Regions from separate parts of the Homo sapiens genome. Here regions 2 and 3 are each linked to region 1. The links are contacts of gene promoters, found by promoter capture Hi-C in blood cells and fetal thymus (Javierre and others, 2016). All regions are on one chromosome and are shown on one strand. Each heading gives the region's core, a stretch centred on a gene start or on the middle of the fragment in contact. The rest is flanking DNA. Distances are from core to core; before and after follow the strand shown.

What was found. The method cuts DNA at HindIII sites, captures the fragments that hold promoters and counts their contacts. A CHiCAGO score of 5 or more calls a contact.
Region 2: a fragment that was not itself captured here is called in contact with the fragment with the promoter of CCNL1 in region 1 in 2 of 17 cell types (non-activated CD4 T cells and total B cells); the score reaches 6.1 in non-activated CD4 T cells.
Region 3: a fragment that was not itself captured here is called in contact with the fragment with the promoter of CCNL1 in region 1 in 1 of 17 cell types (total B cells); the score reaches 5.3 in total B cells.

The regions. Positions count from the first base shown.
Region 1 is chr3:157,157,516-157,162,195 of GRCh38, forward strand. CCNL1 (cyclin L1) reads right to left here and starts at 2,632. Exons shown (of 11, transcript NM_020307.4): 1 at 2,277-2,632; 2 at 1,890-1,964; 3 at 1,351-1,460. The coding sequence starts at 2,579. RefSeq lists enhancers at 1,844-1,913, 2,547-3,276, 3,364-3,413, 3,434-3,493 and a silencer at 2,054-2,263. The HindIII fragment of the contact is 11,903 bases long and covers 1-4,680 here.
Region 2 is chr3:154,293,756-154,298,435 of GRCh38, forward strand. It overlaps DHX36 (DEAH-box helicase 36), which reads right to left. Exons shown (of 25, transcript NM_020865.3): 13 at 1,529-1,584; 14 at 1-57. Among named protein-coding and RNA genes, the nearest start is that of DHX36, 28 kb to the right of the region's middle. The HindIII fragment of the contact is 1,727 bases long and covers 1,479-3,205 here.
Region 3 is chr3:154,311,669-154,316,348 of GRCh38, forward strand. It overlaps DHX36 (DEAH-box helicase 36), which reads right to left. Exons shown (of 25, transcript NM_020865.3): 2 at 4,371-4,495; 3 at 3,378-3,612; 4 at 1-6. Among named protein-coding and RNA genes, the nearest start is that of DHX36, 10 kb to the right of the region's middle. The HindIII fragment of the contact is 777 bases long and covers 2,266-3,042 here.

The DNA of each region.
Region 1 (4,680 bases), core at 1,382-3,881:
GCCTTGTATTAGTGTCATTACTTTAAACATCCTGAAGAATCAGCCAGGTATCTAAATACAGATTTAACCTCAGACCATACCAAAGACCAATTTGAAATCTTCCCAATTCCCAGGGACTCATCAACAAACTAAAAGATATTTTAGAATTTAAAAAGTACTCTATCCCTGGACACAGTTAAGGTGAATGAGAAAAGATGGGGGAGAAAAAGTATGTAGGAAAACTGTTGCAGACTTTTTGACTAGGATACTCTTTTTTTAAAAAAGAACTGTCTGTAGACTCACAGAATAGACTAGTCATCTTAAAGTTGCTTTAATATTTGCTTGTCTGAATAGTTCCATTACTGCCAACTTACAGATTCAGCCAATAAGGACTACTCATATAGAATACTAACAGCACTAACCAACATACCCAACCCCCAGAACAACTTATAATCCTTTTAATAACTTCCTTTCAAACTCAGTACAATTTGTCTAACATCACTACAATTCCTTAAAGAGTGAATGCAAAAACTATTCTACACCAAATATATCATTCTGCAGCATGTACTGGAAGTCACCTGTAGATGCAGGAAGTCCTGCAACAAACTTTTTGGTACTGCCTCACAGGAACACATAGGTCCACATAAAATTATGTTACCACAACACCTAGGAGATACTATTTCAGTCTCTGTATTTTCTTACAACATCAAATAAATGGCCCTATCTAAATGCAACCCAATCAATCTTACTTGTTAATTTTCTAACCCACTCACTGAGACTGTATCTAACCAAAACAAAATACCTGTTTAATCCCTTTGACTTCAAACTTCAAACTTTATCATCCTGCAGTCCTTTCAGATCCGGTATTATTCGATTTATCGTAGTTCAATGTTGAGAAGTACTCTAACAAAAGCCAACCTCAATTGATAAAGAATTAACTGGGACTTCGAGTAGAAAAACATAATCTACACAGAACTTTGCCACAATATTAACTTAAACTACAGTGTTTAAACTTCCAGCCTTCAGTCTTCCAGAGAGGGGAGAGGAAAAATAACTTACAGAATACACTCACACTTGAGCCAAATGTACTCCCTTTCTTGTTTAATCTTAAGCCACAGGCCTGGCTTCACAGCACTGTTAGGATTGTCCATAAATGCAACTGCCTCTACAAACTTTAGATAACCGGTTAATTATGTTTCTTTTTTCAAATTATTTTAAGTATCAGTGTTCCTATATGAACTTTAACACCTAAATTAAAGTCCGTTTTCTTTTGCATCCGTATTCACTTGAAAGGAAAGATGTTTTGATTTGATGACTGGTGCACGGTACAGCAGTAGCAAGAGATACTATGTTCAATAATGCCAATCTTACCTTTTTCCTCTTAACTGGCGGAGGTGGTGGAATACATTAATCACATCTCTTATTCTTCTAGGTGCTTCTTCGATTTTTGATGCAAGATTAATACAAGCCATAGCAACAATCTGAAAGAACCCATGAGCCACAAAAGCCATTGTTAGATTAAACTCACTTTGAAGAATAAAATTTAGAACACAATTGGGACAACCTTTAGTAAAATTAGAGAAGACATCTCTATGCCGTAAGTCTACCAGCTATGCTAGTACTATACTTTTTGTTGTTTAACTCATCTTAATTTTGGTTCCAGAGTCAAACTCAATCTTACAGGAGTTCTGCATTTGGTTGAAAACTGTACTTTTCGTTAAGAGGGCACTTAGGCTCGTGATCGATTTTGAACCACATTCTAAAGGTTTCCACTTCCTGGCGAGTGAGAAGTAGGTACAAAGGCCTAAACTAAACCACTCCCTTTCTGGAAAAGCTGGCTGCTGACACTACCCCTACTCTGCCCATTTCCGGATGAAGAAATCCCTTTTACCCGCCTCCGCTGTGCTTACCTCGAAACTGTGTTTGACGAAAGATTTGGAGTAGAAAAAACGATGAAACAACACCTGCCCCGTTGCCATCGCCACCTGCAGACAAGAGAGGAGAACGGAAGCGCAGGGGTCAGGCGGGCCCGCTCCAGGCGCCGCCGCCATTTTGTGCCGCCGATCGCTTCCCTTTCCCCTCCCGCCGCCGCCGCCGCTGCGAACAGCCCGCTGCCAAGTCCTCCCTCCGCCTCCGCAGCCCCCCGCCCCGGCACGCCCCGGCCGCGGCTGGGCCCCGAACGGGAAAGCCTGAAGGAACCGTCCCCACCCTCCCGGGGCACGGTGATACTGAGATGCGGCGTAGGGGACGGAGGAGAGGAGAGGAGCGCCCGGCCGGCCCGGGGCCGGAGCACTGACCTGCGGCAGCCGGAGGAGAATGCCGGCGGCCTGGATGAGCTCGCAGCCCAGGATGCGTAAGTCCGTCTCACTGGGCAGGTCGAGCCCATCCTGCATGGATGGGGTGGGCGAGAGCCTCTCCTCCGGAATCAGAGAGTGGTCGATGGTAAGTGAAACTTCCGAGTACAGGCGATCGCCGATCAGGATCCCTCCCGTCGTGGTCGTCGTCGTGGTCGTCGTCCCGGAGCTGGAGCCGCCCGCGCTTGGGGCGGCCGATGAGGCGGCTGCGGCAGCAGTAGCTGTCGAATGAGGCCCGGACGCCATAGTCTTAGCGAGCCGCACGCAAGCCCAACGCAGCCGGAACCCGAAACAAGACTAACCAGCGTTCTCGGCGCGACGGATATTCCCGTGACCGCCGGGTTCTGGGCCGCTTCACGCCGCGTGCGCTTCCGCCCTGACGTCACCACGCCGGGCAGCCGCGCGCCAACTAGTCCCTCCAGGCCGCGCCTCCGCCCTCGGCATCTGGGCCTGCGAGGGGAGTGTTGGGTGCTGCGACAGACCTTGGGATCCTCAGAGGCTGAGGAGGCCTTCTCTAGCCAAGGCCGGTCGAAACCACCTTGTTTGTGATAGCCACACGAATAACGGAGCTTTACAAGATCCCTTATACCCAAAATAGAGGTGGCAGCATTGGCTAGCATCTCTGCGCCCCTTCGCCCTGCATTCCGGCCTCTTCCTTTAGCCTCGGCGCGGCTTGCGTTCCGCGTGTACCAAGGGAAGTGGCGGCCGACCTGAGCGCGCTTTGGCGGGTGGAAGTGGTGACTTTGTTGTCCTGTGTGGACGAATGTGTAATATAAAGTGACCCTCAAGGAATCTGGAGAGGGCTGCTTTACAGTATTTGAAGAACACAGGGCTGTGGACCCTATCGGTTCCCAAATGAAAGCTCCCCGGGGAGCGTGTTTTTGCCAGTATGGGGAAGTAGGGCGGAGGCATAGGAATGACCGCGAGAGTGGCTGCTTTCATAGCTCCGCTTGCGAAACTCCTGCCCGGCCTTTGACACCGCCACGGCTTTCAGTAATCTGGAAAATCCCTAGTTTCCAAAAATAGTCTTAGGGCGAGGACTTGACAGAGGTAATTTGATTATGCCTGGGAGTCTCTATTCATACATGGTTACCTACCGCGGGTAGGGTGAGGTCAACCTCGTGTTTTTTGTTTTTTTTCCTGTGATATTAGCTAGCAATTTCCAGCGTTTCCTGAACCTTGAAGTAAAAACAATGATACTGATCTAAACTACTAGAATCTAGGTTGGAAGGAAAGGAATGCATCACGTTTTACTCTTGACGCTCAGAAAGCGATACCCCAAAGACAGAGGCTTTAGAAGCTGCCTCATAATGCAGGTCCCCCAACCTTGACTTGTTGCTCCCACTTTTCCCAAGTGCAGGGAGGTACTCTCTGAAATTTCCTTTCCTGACTAGAGAAGCCTCTTTGTAGAAGAATCAATCGCATTCCTCCCCTCGCTGAAATCTCGTATCCTATTTCAAAAAGACTCAGAAATGCAGCCATTCCTGGAGGGACTTTTTCACAAGATTACTCAAAAGAAAATTATTTACTAATTTCTGTCCATTCATTGTTCCTAATAATCATTTGCTGCTCCTCAAAATAAATGTCTACATTTCTCATCTACCCTTTCCCCTATGAAAAAAAGATATAAAATCTTCTGTACTCCATTAAGCTACTGGGTAATCATCCTCCTGCTTTTACCCCGGTGTTATGTATCCCTTTTCTCCTGTTAATCGCCTGTTATCAGTTGATTTTTTTTTTCTTTTTTTTTAGATAGAGTCTCACTCTGTCGCCCAAGCTGAAGTGCAGTGGCGCGATCTCGGCTCACTGCAGCCTCCGCCTCCGGGGTTCAAGCGATTCTCCCACCTCAGCCTCCCCAGTAGCTGGGATTACAGGCACACACCACCACGTCCAGCTAATTTTTGTATTTTTGTAGAGACGGGGTTTTGCCATGTTGGCTAGGCTGGTCTTGAACTCCTGACCTCAGGTGATCCGCCCGCCTCGGCCTCCCAAAATGCTGGGATTACAGGCATCCAAAGCGCTGGAATTACAGGCATGAGCCACCGCACCCGGCCTTATCAGTTGATTAAGTGAACCTTCAGTGGGCAAAGTTGTTTTAAAATGTACTGATACTTGAGCCTTGCCTGCAGAGGTTGATGTCACTGATTTAAGGTGGGCCCAGCCAGTGGTTCAGTTTTGCCTGTCTTCGAGTGATTGGAATGTACAGCCAAGAGAGTGTAATTATGGTGCTGGCAGAAGTATTAACCTATCTGGATGTCACTGTCTTCACTTTCTGACTAGGCTGCTTCCAGGGAATCTTTCCACCTCAATATTTATGAGATATCTATAATTTTATAACAAACTTTTA
Region 2 (4,680 bases), core at 1,092-3,591, 2.9 Mb before region 1:
CGCAATGTTGGTAGCAATTACTATTTTCCGAACACCAGGAGGGGTTCTTTTAAACACCTGTAAAAATAAATACATCAGAATCACAAAAGTACACTAACTTCTAATACATTATATTTGTAATTAGAGGAATTACCTCAGATACTGTTCATTTTTAGCATTCTATGTTCATTCACTGACATATACATCTAATATTTATCGATGTATTTATGAAGTACAGATCATTTTCAATATTACAAAATTATCTTTTGGTAAACCACATTAAATCTCCCACAGATGTCACAATCTTATCACAAACAAGATTTCCAATGAGGTATCATTATTTAAATTTACAGCAGTTTTTTAACAAAAGCTGGAGGTTATAAAGTAGAGGGAGGGATATTTCTGTTAGGACAAGAATAATGAAGTCAAGTCTCCATGGGTAAGAACACTGAATAATCAGGCAGATGCCCAACCCAGCAGAACAAATGTCAACTGTGCAGCTGTACCAACCACTGTCTACTAGCTTGAGATCAGATTGGAGTGAAAAAAAAAAATCCTCTTTAAATGGAGAATTCTACAAATACTGCCCCACAACCCGACAATGTCACTAAAGTAGAAAGAAGATAGGTAATCAAGTACCACTGGCGATAATGCAAACAAACAAAAAGCAAAAACTTATCCCTTCATTTACAAAACTGGTAGTCAATACAGAAAATGTTTCCCAGGCTATTCACATACTCTCCAGCAAAGGAATACATAATTTACTAGGTTATGGTGTGGAAGATGAATACTTCCATGCTGGATACTCTTTCAGTCTTTGGAATCAAGAGTTTTCTTTCTTGCCCCCTCTCTTCTCTCAGGTATGTACTCTGTATCTAATTCATGACTAAGGTACCAGCAACAAAAATATTAAAAGGGTCTCAAAGAAAAGTATCTTGATATTTTCTTATAAAAAGAGAAAAGGATAAACTAGAAATGGGGGGAGGAGCAGGTTTTCTAATCAATTTCATTTTGCAAGAGCCTGCAAATACTGTAGATCATAACATTATCCTGCCTCTGAGAATGTAGTGTTCACTCTAATTAGGAAAGCGCCTGTATCTGATGGAGCCAAACATTCATAATACATTATTAAAACAGAAATTTTATACCTGTGAATATACTAGCTTTGTGAAATTAAATCTCAAATCATCATCAAACTGTAGTATGTCACAGATCATTAATTTCTAGGTTTGGTTACTTTTAGTAGTACTCACAGACCTTTTTCTCTTACTCAGGAAACTCAACGAAGTTACTGGTGAAACCAATTCTTTAAACTTTTTCCTAATGTAGACAAAACTAATCTGATTTGTGGGTTATCCGCTGATATTCAAGTTTTTGAGCAATCATCCCCTGAAGACTCATTTGCAAAGGTTCTCAAAGAAGTATTTTTTTACATGAATTACTATTTGAAAATACTCCTTAAAAAAAATAAAGGAAAACACGTAACAAGCAGTCCTTAAAGCTTGCCTCAGTTTGAAATACATTTAACAAATGTATCCATTTAACATACCTGTGTCTGGTTAACTGTAGGCATCAGTGAATGTAAAGGTATAATTAAAAATTTATCTGAAAATTAAAGAGAATTAAATTTTAAGATAAAGAGTTGCAGAAAAGCTCCATCAAACACATATGAGACAATGAATTCAGAAGCTGAACCACTCAATTCTTTTTTTGATAAGACATTGAACATTATTTAATGAAAACAGCTAAACCATCTGAGTTGACAAACTGCCCATGTGTTTAAGTGAACCAAAAATTCTTTATTTTTATTTCTACATACAAACAGACCAACTTAATTTCTTTATAGTCTTGTTTTCTGAGCGCTCCAAGTTCAAGCTAACATTTTGTTCTGTTAGTTTATTTCATATTGATAAGTATTTTCCCCAAATTCTTAAAGAATGCTCAAAAGTTGGGAGTAATCTTTTCAAATTACACCAATAAAAACTGAATGAATAGGCAACAATTCTGTTTAACATGAATACGTTTGTACACTTTGGGTGATCCTATTTTTTTGTTGTTCAGTCAGGGTCTCATTCTGTTGCCCGTTGCTGTGGTGTGATCTCTGCTCACTGCAACCTCTGCCCCCTGGGCTCAAGTGATCCTCCCACCTCAGCCTCCCGAGTAGCTGAGACCACAGGCATGCACAACCATGTTTGGCTAATTTTTGTATTTTTTGTAGAGATGGGGATTTGCCATGTTGCCCAGGCTGGTCTTGAACTCCCAAGCTCAAGCAATCCACCCACCTCAGCCTTCCGAAGTACTGGGATTACAGATTACAGGCATGAGCCCTGCACCTGGCAATCCTCACTATTTTAATCAAACCGATAATATCTAAATTTTTAGAGCAAATTACTTATTAAATACCCATGTCCTAGTTAGAAAATAATGAAATAGTCCTTGTTAAAAATAATACATTCCAGGCCAGGCGCGGTGGCTCATGCCTGTAATCCCAGCACTTTGGGAGGCCGAGGCGGGCGGATCACGAGGTCAGGAGATCAAGACCATCCTGGCTAACACGGTGAAACCCCGTCTATACTAAAAATACAAAAACTTAGCTGGGCGTGTTGGCGGGCGCCTGTAGTCCCAGCTACCTGGGAGGCTGAGGCAGGAGAATGGCGTGAACCTGGGAGGCGGAGCTTGCAGTGAGCCGAGATCGCGCCACTGCACTCCAGCCTAGGTGACAGAGCGAGACTCCGTCTCAAAAATAATAATAATAATAATAATAATACATTCCAAAAGTGACCCACATTTTACACATATTTTGTTAAAAATATAAGAAATTCCTACTTTTTAAGTTTCCAAATGAAATAGCTCAAGCCCATTCACAATTATTAGCCAACACAGAAAGTCTGGTGTAATACAGTGATGGGTGAAAGGGAGAGTATCAAGAAAGCAAGAGTTAATTTCACATTTAACTATGCTTACAAAAATACAATCTGACTTAAATGCCCAAATGATTCAAGTCAGCTATACTTCCCCAGAAAAGAACTGTTGTTATCTAAAGGATATGATGATCCCCATGGACTCTGACTGTGAAGAGATTTTACGAATCTTAAAAATAAAAAGTAGTGAACAGCTGCCAAGCAACTGATGTTGCTAAAAAAGAATCCTCTGAATTACTTGTCTCTGTGACAGTATGAAATATTACAACTATAATATTCAAGCCAAAAATACTTGAATTGAATCAAGCTTTCAGATATAACTTTCGAGTTACAGGAAATAAAGGTAAGAGAGAATCAAATGAAATGATAGCATAAAGAGTCACACAAATTCAGAAAGTTGGACTTATTAGAGAACAAATGGCCTGGTCTTTTCCATGACTTTACATTACCATGAGGAAAAGCAGGGAGTGGAGGGGAGCAATGTTCTAGAGCTAGATCAAAAGATGTTGACACTTTCTATAGTTTGAACAGGCTAGTTGTGAAAGACACTTTTCAGAAAAATGGGAAAATCTGATTACAGACTGGATTATCAGATGGTATTAAGGATTAGGTATGATAAAGACATGATGGTTATATAGAAAATTGCCTTTAGAGATTCTTGCTTATACATTTAGAAATGAAATGTGACAGCTGCAATTGACTTTAAGAAAAAACTAGGACTGAAAAAATAATTGTTGGCACTGAAGTCGTGGATTCATTAAGATTCTCTAGTTTTGGCTGGGTGCAGTGGCTCACGCCCGCAATCCCAGCACTTTGAGAGGCCAAGGCAGGTGGATTACAAGGTCAGGAGTTCAAGACCAACCTGGCTAAGATGGTGAAACCCTGTCTCTACTAAAAATACAAAAATTACCCAGGTGTGGTGATGGGTGCCTATAATCCCAGCTACTCGGGAGGCTGAGGCAGGGAACTGCTTGAACCTGGGAGGCGGAGGTTGCAGTGAGCTGAGATCGTGCCACTGCACTCCAGCCTGGGAAACAGAGCGAGACTCCACCTCAAAAAAAAAAAAAAAGTCTCTAGTTTTTTTGTATATTTAAAATGTTTCATTATAAAAAGTTTAAAAGTTAGCCAGGGATAATAAAAGTAAAAACAATTCTGTTGAAGACTATATAATTGGGAAAAAAAATTTATATTGTTGACACCATACAACTAAGAGAGTTAATGAGAACAAAATCTATACTCTTATGAAAAGAAAAAAACAAGAAATTGATAAGCATTTAATAAACTGAGTTTCAAAACTCAATTTCTCAGCACAGAGTTAGGCCAATTTTCTCCCCATGATAGTGGTTAACTATACAACTGATTATCAAGGCTAAATTTTTTTCAACATAATTTGAGAAAAAACACTCAAGTTCTGGAAAGATTTCCTTTAAAAGGAATTGAGCTGGTAGTGGAAGTGTATACATTAGCAACTCTTTCCTTGAGAATAATTAATTCAAACTAGAAAGTTAACGAAGTCAATTATAATAATCTATAATATACCCTTTTCCCACTCTCCATCACATACACTAAATGATAACGTTATATTTTGGTATATATCTTATCTTCATTGGTAAATATATGCACACACATTTTTTAAAATTATAAGTACACTATACAATAATGTTTATAATAATGGGGGAAGGAAAGGCCAGAGTTAGATTTAGCCAATAAAAAAATTCTAGTTGTTTGAAAAATTCAGCTGTCTAATCATGACAAATTTTTCTATAAAGTTATCACACAA
Region 3 (4,680 bases), core at 1,404-3,903, 2.8 Mb before region 1:
GAAATGCTGAAATTTAAAAAAAGTTTTAAATTTTCACAGAAGATATGTAATCAAATTATAATCATGGTATTTAGGATACATCACAGGGTAAATTGGCTAGAATCCGAAAGTATTTTTATTATCTCATGGCTTGTGTAAAAACATTATAAAGAATAATTTACCAATTCCTTTTATGTCTGAAACATTCAAAACCAGAACTCCATTACATCCAGCAAAATAGAGACAATGCTTTAAGTCAGTGGCAGTAAAATGAAATCGGATCTGTCCTCTAACAGTATTCTAATAATTGCTAAATTACTTTCACTATTTTTCAATATGTTTTATATATTCATCTTAGATTTGATTTCTATATTATGTTTTTCCCACCCAACAGTGCACTATTTACTAATACATTAAGTACTGGAGCAGAATCAAAAATTTCAGGATATACTTGCCTTTGAGTGTAAGAGAAAACTTAAAACAAGTAATATCTGCAGTCAGAAAATCTGGTACTGCCATTTTAGAGCTGTGATCTCAGTTAAGTCAAACTTAAAGTATGAATGCCTCAAAGATTTTATCTCATACGGTTGCCACAAGATCTAAATGAAAAACCTTTATATAAAAAGCAAATACCAGTTTCTGAAACATATAAGCTACTCAATGAATTTCAAATGTGTTAAATTACAATTAGAATACTACAAAAGGAATGACTATTTTTCCTATATTTATGTGACAATTTCTTCCTAATTCTGAAAACTTTTATGGAACTCTATACCCGTATTACATAAAAACATTTAAGAAGCAGTCCTGTAGTTTACATTCAACTAGGTACATATAATGTAAAAAAAAAACTTCAGTGGCATAAAAATAAAGTCAGCTTTAATAAACACCCTTTATTAAGATGGAAAAAATCGGCTGGGTATGGTGGCTCACGCCTGTAATCCCAGCACTTTGGGAAGCCGAGGCAGGCAGATCATGAGGTCAGGAGTTTGAGACCAGCCTGGCCAGCAAGGTGAAATCCCGTCTCTACTAAAAATACAAAAAGTTAGCTGGGCATAGTGGCACACGCCTGTAGTCCCAGCTACTTGGGAGGTTAAGGCAGGAGAATTGGTGGAGGTTGTGGTGAGCCGAGATCGTGCCACGGCACTCCAGCCTGGGTGACAGAGCAAGACTCCATCTCAAAAAAAAAAAAGGAAATAATTAAAATATATATATATATATATATATATATATATATATATATATATATATATAAAATAAATAAAGAACTGTCTTTGGTAATCTAGTATTATATTATTGCCATGTTTGTTATGGTCAGGTAATTCTTACCAATACCATAAAAATAACAGTCAATGTGAAGACTGAAATGAATTCTAGTCATTTAAAATAACAAAAGCTACCACACTTATCTTACCTTGTAATAACTTACTTATCTTGTAATAATTTTTAAATTATCTAAAAACTATTTTTAATGACATAAGTATTAACACCCCAGGTAGTCAAATGTTACCATCTTAACACATAATTATACACAAGCTATCCCACTGCATTTCAAACTGGCATTAATCGTATTTGCTTTATACATGTAAATGCCACTGGAAAGAGAGGTATAGTCCAATATTCTTTCCCAAGGCAGCCAAAGTTTCTACTTTGTTAACTTTTGACCATAACGAAGATGTGAGATAATTCAACTATAAGCTCTCTGAGGACAGGAAATATCTTATTACTCTTCAAAAACAGTAATAAGCATAACTGGCTGGTGTGGCTCACTCCCATAATTACAGAATTTGGGGAGGTGGAGGTAGGAGGATTGCTTGAGCCCAGGAGTTCAAGACCAGCCTGGGCAACAAAGCAAAACCCTGTCTCTACAAAAAATACAAAAATTAACCAGGCGTACTGGCACATGCCTGTAGTGCCAGCTACTCAGGAGGCTAAGGTGGAAGGATCACTTGAGCCCAGGAGGTCGAGGCTGCAGTGAGCCATGATGGCACCACTGTACTCTAGCCTGGGTGACAGAGTGAGACCCTGTCTTAAATATATATATATACATACACGCACACATATATAGCACAGTAACTGGCATCCAGTAAGTAGAAAATTAATGTTTATTAAAGAACATAAAGAAAAAATATTGCACATGCTAAAAATGATTAAAAAGCTGAGTTGTTAAACACAGCTGAATTTTAGATCTGATTCTGTTATGAGCTATGCAACCTCAGGTAGGTCACTTAAATCTTTTTCCTCATCTACAACAGACATGTAGTCTCTTATTCAAGGTTGTTGAGAAGCTTAAATAATATAGTACACATGAAGCATTTATGACAACATATGGGAAATAGGAAGACCACCAACTTTTTAAATGTTTTACACATTTTTCTTTCTCTGAACTAGATCAATCACCCATCTTTAGTATATGAGTTCTGTCCATCATATACAGCAAAGAGAAAGACACTAATTCCTCCTGTTAAGGCTGTTAAAGCAGCTCTTCTCAACCAGAAGATTCTCAATTAATTCATCCTGAAATTTCCTCCATTTTCAAATCACATTTTTACCCAACAGGCATCAAAGAGCTACACAATTTGGCCCTGGACAACCTCAGCTTATCTATTCTAATACGGAAATCCAACTGTCATCAGTAACAGTCAATGGATCCTTTCTTTCCTATTAAGGAAATTCAGCTTTCATCAGTGAGCCAAGGGATCCTTTCTTTCCTATAGGAGGTGCTATATCCTTCCTTTATCAAAGACAGCAGTATGTATTTACATATTAAAGATATGGCCCTCAGAGTTTCCTCAGTAATTTCTCTTAAACATATACATACATACATGAGACCACTTTATTACATCTCTAGAACACCCACAAATCACACAATTTTATGTTTTAACTGAAAGGGACCTTAAAATATCTTGCCTAGCATAGAAAGAAAATATCAGAATTCAGGAGATCTCAGGTGTTGTGATAGTCCTGTATTTAAAATGTTAGTGAACAAAGCACATCACATAATTTTTGAAATATTTAATTTTATCATCTATAAAAAGAAGATGTATTAAGTAATCTGGAACAAGCTTTACAATTTTAACTGCCTTTACTGCACATGGCACCTCACTAAACTGGCCTAGAAAAGCTGAAGAGTAAGTTTTTTTTTCATTGGCACTAGCATTTCTCAAACATTTCTTCTCACCACATAAGCTTCTGTGGATGAGATAGGATACTGTAGGTTATGTGTAACTTCCATTCCCACTGCTTTTCTCTACCATTCGAAAAGAAATTAATTCCCACAGGGATGTCTTGTTGAGGATCTCACTGATCTATGCCATGCAGCTACCTCTAACCATACATACATTTTTATAAAGTGTAAGAAAAAAATGACAAAATATTTTTTGACATCTTTCTACTACCTGCATTTCAATATACCGAAGGTCATTTTTTTTCTTTTGTAAATCTTCCAATAATTTTTGGTCTAAAGTTCCATCTGGTTCATTTTCTTGCAAGAGATACTCAGAATCTCGGTCAATATATGATCTGTTCCTGATTCTAAACATTTTTTTTTCTTGATTTATCAACTTCTTTTCCTGGATGTCAAGTTTGTTCTCTGAGCATGGTGTGTTCTTAGTAGAAACTTCAGTACCGTATCTGTTTTGACAAAATAAGAAAGGAAGAAAGGTCAGATGAGCCACTCAAACACTGGAACAAAACAAAACAAAACAATACGCTGTTGAAATATTTCAAAGTCATCCAAATCCAAAGCTTTTCTTTTCTCTTAGTACAGTAATTATGAAAATATACTTAGATTCTTATAATAAATTCAAATTTTTCTTCCCTTTAAATAGATATTGCCAGATTAAGTTATTCCTTGTGATAGTTAAAAATAAAAATCCACAGAATAGTCATTCCTTCACTGCGGTTACTTACAGTGTTTCTCTTTTTCTGGATTTCTCGAACTTGTTTTATGTCACAACATCTTTTTTTCTTGCCACCCTTTCTGAGCTACAAATAGGATGCTACAATACACAGTCTTTGAAATACTTGTACTAATTTTTCCTCTAAATGATACAGTTCTTGTAATCTTTCTAAAACGGTAGCAATTTCACTTCTTGCAGATCTCCCAGACAGAATAATTTCATAAATACAAAGAGGACAGGTAGGGAGAACAATAAATAACAACTTAATACATCTCATATCCAGATACACTATTATTCATACCATTTAGCTTTCCTATGGAAACATGCCATCTAAATTTTTAAAAGTCATTTTCTAAATCTGTTTAATCTACATAAGGAAAAAAAGTACGTAAAGGTTAAAATTCACTTATCGAAGAAAATAAAGATGTTATTTTTATTATTAAAGTGTTACTCTTTGCCTATTCTTTAAAAAAATATTTCTTGTCGTACCCATGATCCTCAGGAGCAAACCAGGATATCTGTGCTTCTGACTCTTTATCATTCTTCGCTTGAACAGAATTCAGTAACTGTACAATTTGTTCTTCTCGTCGTTCATCCATGTGTACTACAGCTCTCTAGTTTGTGCAAAGAAAAAAGCATCCTTGTCAACATAAGAAAGCATATGCAAAAATTATTTGATACTGAAGAAAATAAAGGCTAAGTAATATATGTTCAACAAATACATATAAAAGAAAGTTATCCACAGGTGTCCTCTAGCCCAATACCCCCCTTCCTAGACCTAATTAATTGTTAAAATTTT